Linked DNA regions of Homo sapiens: region 1 is linked to region 2. Evidence: promoter capture Hi-C in human tissues and cell types (Jung and others, 2019). All regions are on one chromosome and are shown on one strand. The core of a region is centred on a gene start or on the middle of the fragment in contact, and the rest is flanking DNA. Distances in the headings are between cores, read along the strand shown. Region 1 overlaps MYH4 (myosin heavy chain 4). Region 2 holds the start of MYH2 (myosin heavy chain 2).

Region 1 (2,890 bases), core at 290-2,789, 100 kb before region 2:
AGAGAAGAGAAGCACATTTACTTATAACAACTCACATTGTCATTTTACCTAGTGTACACAGGCAAAAATTATTGATCATAAGAAATGTTTAGAATAAAAACCAAATTAGAAGATAATTCTAAGTTTATGCCTTTTCTCCTTTCTATATATAGCTCTTTAATCAAACTTCTAAATTTAATTTTTGATGTCAAACATATTCAACTATTACCATTGCCATTTGTAAGCATGAAACACAGCCCACAAAACTCAAAGTGCTGTACCATGGAGCACCACACCACAGCTCATTTAAAATGAATCAGTAATTTTTAGCTATTAACTCATGTTGGTTGACTCCATATTTATAAATGCATAAATAGTTGTCTTGTTGGCTGGGCGCAGTGGCTCATGCCTGTAATCCCAGCACTTTGGGAGGCCGAGGTGGGCAGATCACGGGGTCAGGAGATCGAGACCATCCTGGCTAACACGGTGAAACCCCGTCTCTACTAAAAATACAAAAAATTAGTCGAGTGTGGTGGTGGGCGCCTGTAGTCCCAGCTACTCGGGAGGCTGAGGCAGGAGAATGGCGTGAACATGGGAGTCGGAGCTTGCTGTGAGCCGAGATCGCACCACTGCACTCCAGCCTGGGTGACAGAGTGAGACCCCTTCTCAAAAAAAAAAAAAAAAAAAAAAAAATAGTAGTCTTGTTGGGATAAAAATGAGCCAAGAATCCCTTCTGTTTTTGGCAAGTTGATGGTGTTTGGAATAGTCAACTTCAGATACTGTTAATAAGAAAAATGTTGCATATTAATTTGATTTTAAAATTATATAAAGCATGCAATTTTAACACTTCTATAATAGTTATGTTTATATAGTGCAACTTTCTGAAGTATACAGTACTATATATTTATTGTAAAAGATAGTAGAACATACAAATTAGCAGACAAGAAACAAAAAATAATTACTGTGCTCTCACCAGAGATAAAGGATAAACTTTTATTTATCTTTCTGGATGTTTCCTATATGTTTATACGGGAAAAAAGATCACACAGCCTATATTATTTTTAAGTTGCTTTTTTAACTTACTATAATATAAACATCTTCCCATGGCAATAAATTCATACTACAGTGGTTACATATTAGCCATTGTGAGGATATACCACCATTTATTTAACAAATTCACTATATACAACAAATGCTAACTAGTATTAATAATGGCCTCCATGAATTTGAACTAAAGAGCTTCTCTTTGTATCCCATGAGGTTAGCATTCTGTGCATATGTGATACGTAAATATTATTTAGTGGCTTTTTGTTTTTCTCCTCTATTTTATTTGCCTATCTTTTTGTAGCTTAGAGTTGCATAAGACAAGACAGCTACAAATGTTGTGTGTATGTTTATTTGTAGATGGTCTTCTGTGCTTTTTAAATAAAAGTTTCTAGAATTCCAGATTATTTCAACTCAACATGATTATGCCAGCCCATAAATATACTCGTGAACCAGCTAGGTCCCAGTAAATCCTTACAGCACCCTGTACATTTTCCAGAGCTCCAGGAAGGGACGAAGATTACTTTTTACTTTATAAACAAGCTTATCTTCTCAAATTATCTTCAGCTTCAGGGAGTACATTTTCTAAACCATAGTCTTGAACCTCACCTGAGTGTGCAGAAGTTGCACACGTTCACTGGCATCCAGAAGCTCTTGCTCTGCCATTTTCCTGCCTCTCTCAGTCCGTTCCAGGGATGCCCTGAGCTCTTCAACTTCAGCCTGCATCAGGTTAGCTCTGCGCTCAACCATTGCCAGTTGTTCCTTAAGGTCATCTTGGCCTCTGATGGCATCATCCAAATGTAGCTGAGTGTCCTACACAGAAAGAGAAAAAGCCTCTTACTCATGCTGCACTTAAAGCAAATGCAAACTTATGGTCATGTACACTCTTTGATCTTAATGACTTAGAGTATGATTAGATAGGAGCAATCGGCAAGTACCTTTAATAATAAATTCTTTGTAGCTGAGGGTTGCAGTTCTACTCAAAAGAACATGATGTTTTATTATTTTAGACCCTGAATCATTAAAAAATACCATGGCTAGCTCTACAAAATTTTGGATCAGGAAAGTATCCTTAGACTTCAGCGAGTCCAGTGGTGCTATTTTACATATTAAGCAAATGAAGTCCAGATTAATGAAGTGATTTAAGCAGTGGCATGTAGCCAAACTCTTTCATCACTTCCTCTATCTCCCTACCCCTCACCACAGTGCTTCTCTGCAGATAACAAAGCAAACTCTGTCCTGGGCCTTCCAGAATTAAGCTCTTTTTCAGTTGTGTGTGTATAACTTTGAACTTTGAACTGATTACCATGTTGCTTAGGTGATTTATGACACATAGTCCTCGTAAAACATTAAAATTTGAGTTACACAGTAGCACTGAGACTGTACAACACTATGTGTATTTACCCCAGCATACCTTCAGTATTCCTTGTGTGTTTCTAAGATTCCTTAGTGCCTCAGCAGCCTGGCGGTTGGCATGGTTCAGCTGGATTTCCATTTCATTAAGATCTCCCTCCATCTTCTTCTTGATCCTCAGAGCATCATTTCTGCTCCTGATCTCAGCATCCAGTGTACTCTGCATTGACTCCACAACTCTGAGATGGTTCCTCTTTAGCTGATCGAGTTCTTCATCTTTTTCAGCAATTTTTCGGTCAATCTCAGATTTCACCTGATTTAGCTCAAGTTGAATGCGAAGAATTTTGCCTTCTTCATGCTCAAGAGATGCCTTAATAAAAGCAACATTTATTTAGGTTACCTAAAGAGCTTTTTATTTCTTTCACATTATGATAATTTCCCCAAGAAGGCATTAAAAAACCCATAAACTATCATACGTCTTAATGTAGCCTATTAGCTCTGCATTCTCAAGGTA
Region 2 (2,868 bases), core at 143-2,642:
GCCTAAGTGACTCCATCTTTAGAATAGGGATTATAAATTCTGCCTTTCTAAATTCACAGCCCATGATATATGTGAAGATACTTTGAAAAAGAGGTTTAAATGATGACTGAGAAAGTAATTTGAAATTGTTCAGGCCACCATTTATATATGAGATGTCATGAATTATCATGTCACAAAATTCCATGTCTTGAATGTAATGTAGAAGAACTTTATTTCCTCCTTTACCTGTTCAGCCAGATTTGTTGAAGTTCAGTGGCTTATTGGAGATTATAATTTTGTTTACCTTTTTTTCTTTTAGGTTAGGTGCTTAGTATAGTTTCTCTGACATAATTTTTTGCATATTAAATACAGTTCATCAGTTTAACCCCCTTAAACTAATTAGGGATAAAAACAGTAGCCAACGTTAACCTCATTCTTCTACATCTAAGGGCTCCCTTTACTATTCCAAATTTTCCTTTGAAGCATGCAGGCCCTGTTTGCTCCGTTCTATGTGATCTGTAGGTTGCCAGTGGTATCAGTAGAATGAAAGGTTTGGCAAATAATTCTACCGCAGTCATTACATGATCAAATTACTTGAAACTCATTTGAATCGTCTCTTCTAGTCTCTCCCTTTAGAAATGCAGTAAGTAGTGGGAGGGCAGATTAATACCTCTATTATATATAAGAAAAATGCCACAGCACTCGGCATTGTGTAAGGTGACTTTTTACAAGGGCTTTAAGAAGTTTAAAGAAAGGATTGTCTTACTTCCATTTTACATTGTTGGACATTATGTTTACTAAATGAATTCTAACAGCAGGATACATTTTTATCAAATTTGAGATTTTTAGCCAGGGAATCTGAGGGTAGACTCTTTTTTTCCTGCACAGACAATATATTTATTCAAAGCGATTCCCCTGCTCAAATGTCACCCCACCAATGCTTGAGCCGTAAATGAGGATGTGTGCATTGTCCTGAAAGGACAGTCCTCCCTTTCTCACCGCTTTCCTGAAGCACAGTTGTTAAAGGGTATTTACTGAGACAAGCACTTTCTGAAAGGTTGCTAAGTGACAGAAATCCATCCCAGAGCCTCTTGCATTCTCCTCCAGGAACTGGTTAGTCCAAATCTTACCTTGTTAGCAAGTGAGAAGATGTAGCCTGGGAGTGAGACAGTTCTATAAAAGAAAAGGGAAAAGCACTTGATTAGTTGACCAAAAAGAGGGGGAAAAAATCCCATTTATGGCATGGCTTGCTATTGTAAACAGAAGTAACAAAATTCATAGAGGTAAAACGTGCAGTTCCAGAAGGAGCAGTACCAGAACTAGCAGCTGCTGCTGACACTGGGCGGTGTGACCAGTGTCCCTCTTGAAAGGCCCGTCCTGCTCCCACTTACCTTGGAGCTTTTTAAAGCAGGACGAGTCAGCCTCATTCCAAGGGCTCTTTTATATGGATAGCTATGGAAACAATGCAGCTGCCTCTTCTTTCTTAAGTCAAAAGGAATTGTTTGGCAAAATACCTCTTGGCAATCTAGCGTCCCCGCATAATTCTCATTCATATTAAGAATGGTTGGATATAATTAGAAATATTTTTCTTATTGAGTATGTGGATAAATCTCCTATGGATAATTTGAGAAGATGATCTGAAAGAGTCAAGCTGGTGGATAAAGGCAGTGGCTGGGCAGCCAGGATACCTGGCTTCCCTCGGAACTTCTTTTTGGCTTTGCTGGGCACAGCATTCGGGCTTGCCTCGCATCACTTTCGCATATTTCACGTGTTAAGTCACATAAATAAAATACAAATATGTATTTTAATTTTGTGACAGTTAATTTTTACCTGTTGGTCCTTTCTTTCCAGCCCTGCAAAATTAAGCGATGTGCCTTCAACAACTTAAAGAGACAGAAGGTCCTCTCTGTTATTCCAATATTCCTGTAGTTTCAGGAATTTCCTTGCTCGCTCACCTTTTTGCTTTTGCCAAAGTTGTTCCCTCTACTTAGCACACCATTTCCTGTCCCCCTACCCATTTGACTTGCCTGAAATAAAAAAGGTTGAATATTTTCTAGTAGCAGAGGTGTTTTTAGAGAGTACTTTTCAACATTTTTTCGTGTCATAGCCCGCTGAGAAAAAAATGACAATATTAGTGTAGCATGCTAGAGTAATGTGGAAGGGATTTGTCTATATCTGTAAAGGGCTTGGGGAGAATATTTTTAATTTTTTTACATTCCTTTATGTAATATAAATATAATAACTATGATACACATAGCATTAAGGAAAATATTAAATACTGAATATGTCGGAAACTTACAAATAATATCTTCTTGAAAATCCTAAGGAAAAATTTGAGCTATATCCTACAAATAAAACTTGTTTGTTTCTGACTTTATTCTTGAAATATGACACAAATTTCCAGATCAAATTTTCAAAAATGATACAAACAGTATCTGTGTTCTTGATAATTACCATAGCGGGGATTTTTGTCCAAGAAGGAGGGATGAAAATGGAAAACCAAGTAATTTACAACTGTTGGAGTATTTTAAAAATTCACCAGTTCTTCTTTCTCCTTCATTGAAAAATATAATGTTGAATATTCTCGTACAGTGAAAATAAGTTTTTAATCCATTTAAACTCTCTCTTTCATATCAAATATTTCAAAGGATAATGAAGCTCTAATCTTCAAAAACTTCATGGGTTAAAGGAGTCATCAGCATTGGTCAAAGGGCACACCAGTCACAAATACACACAAGTACCTGATCTATTCAAAGTCTAAGGTTTGGAGCTATTACTGTGGGCTACCTCTTCCAGTACAACCTACTTAGCCTTCTGGCACCTTTACTCTGGCTGGATGCTCTCTGGGCTGCATGCCTTGTCCCAGGCATCCTGGAACACCAACCCTCC

The links. Contacts are between HindIII fragments. The study calls those that stand out against the background at their distance.
Region 1: a contact is called between a fragment that was not itself captured here and the fragment with the promoter of MYH2 in region 2, in 3 of the 25 tissues and cell types used here (adrenal gland, neural progenitor cells and thymus).

The regions. Positions count from the first base shown.
Region 1 is chr17:10,445,381-10,448,270 of GRCh38, forward strand. It overlaps MYH4 (myosin heavy chain 4), which reads right to left. Exons shown (of 40, transcript NM_017533.2): 34 at 2,438-2,746; 35 at 1,633-1,836. The region is part of intron 2 of MYHAS (myosin heavy chain gene cluster antisense RNA); the gene reads left to right. Among named protein-coding and RNA genes, the nearest start is that of MYH4, 23 kb to the right of the region's middle. RefSeq lists an enhancer at 1,459-2,658. The HindIII fragment of the contact is 4,935 bases long and covers 1-2,890 here.
Region 2 is chr17:10,548,266-10,551,133 of GRCh38, forward strand. It overlaps MYH2 (myosin heavy chain 2), which reads right to left and starts at 1,393. Exons shown (of 40, transcript NM_017534.6): 1 at 1,371-1,393; 2 at 1,110-1,152. All of the region lies in intron 2 of MYHAS (myosin heavy chain gene cluster antisense RNA), which reads left to right. The HindIII fragment of the contact is 30,725 bases long and covers 1-2,868 here.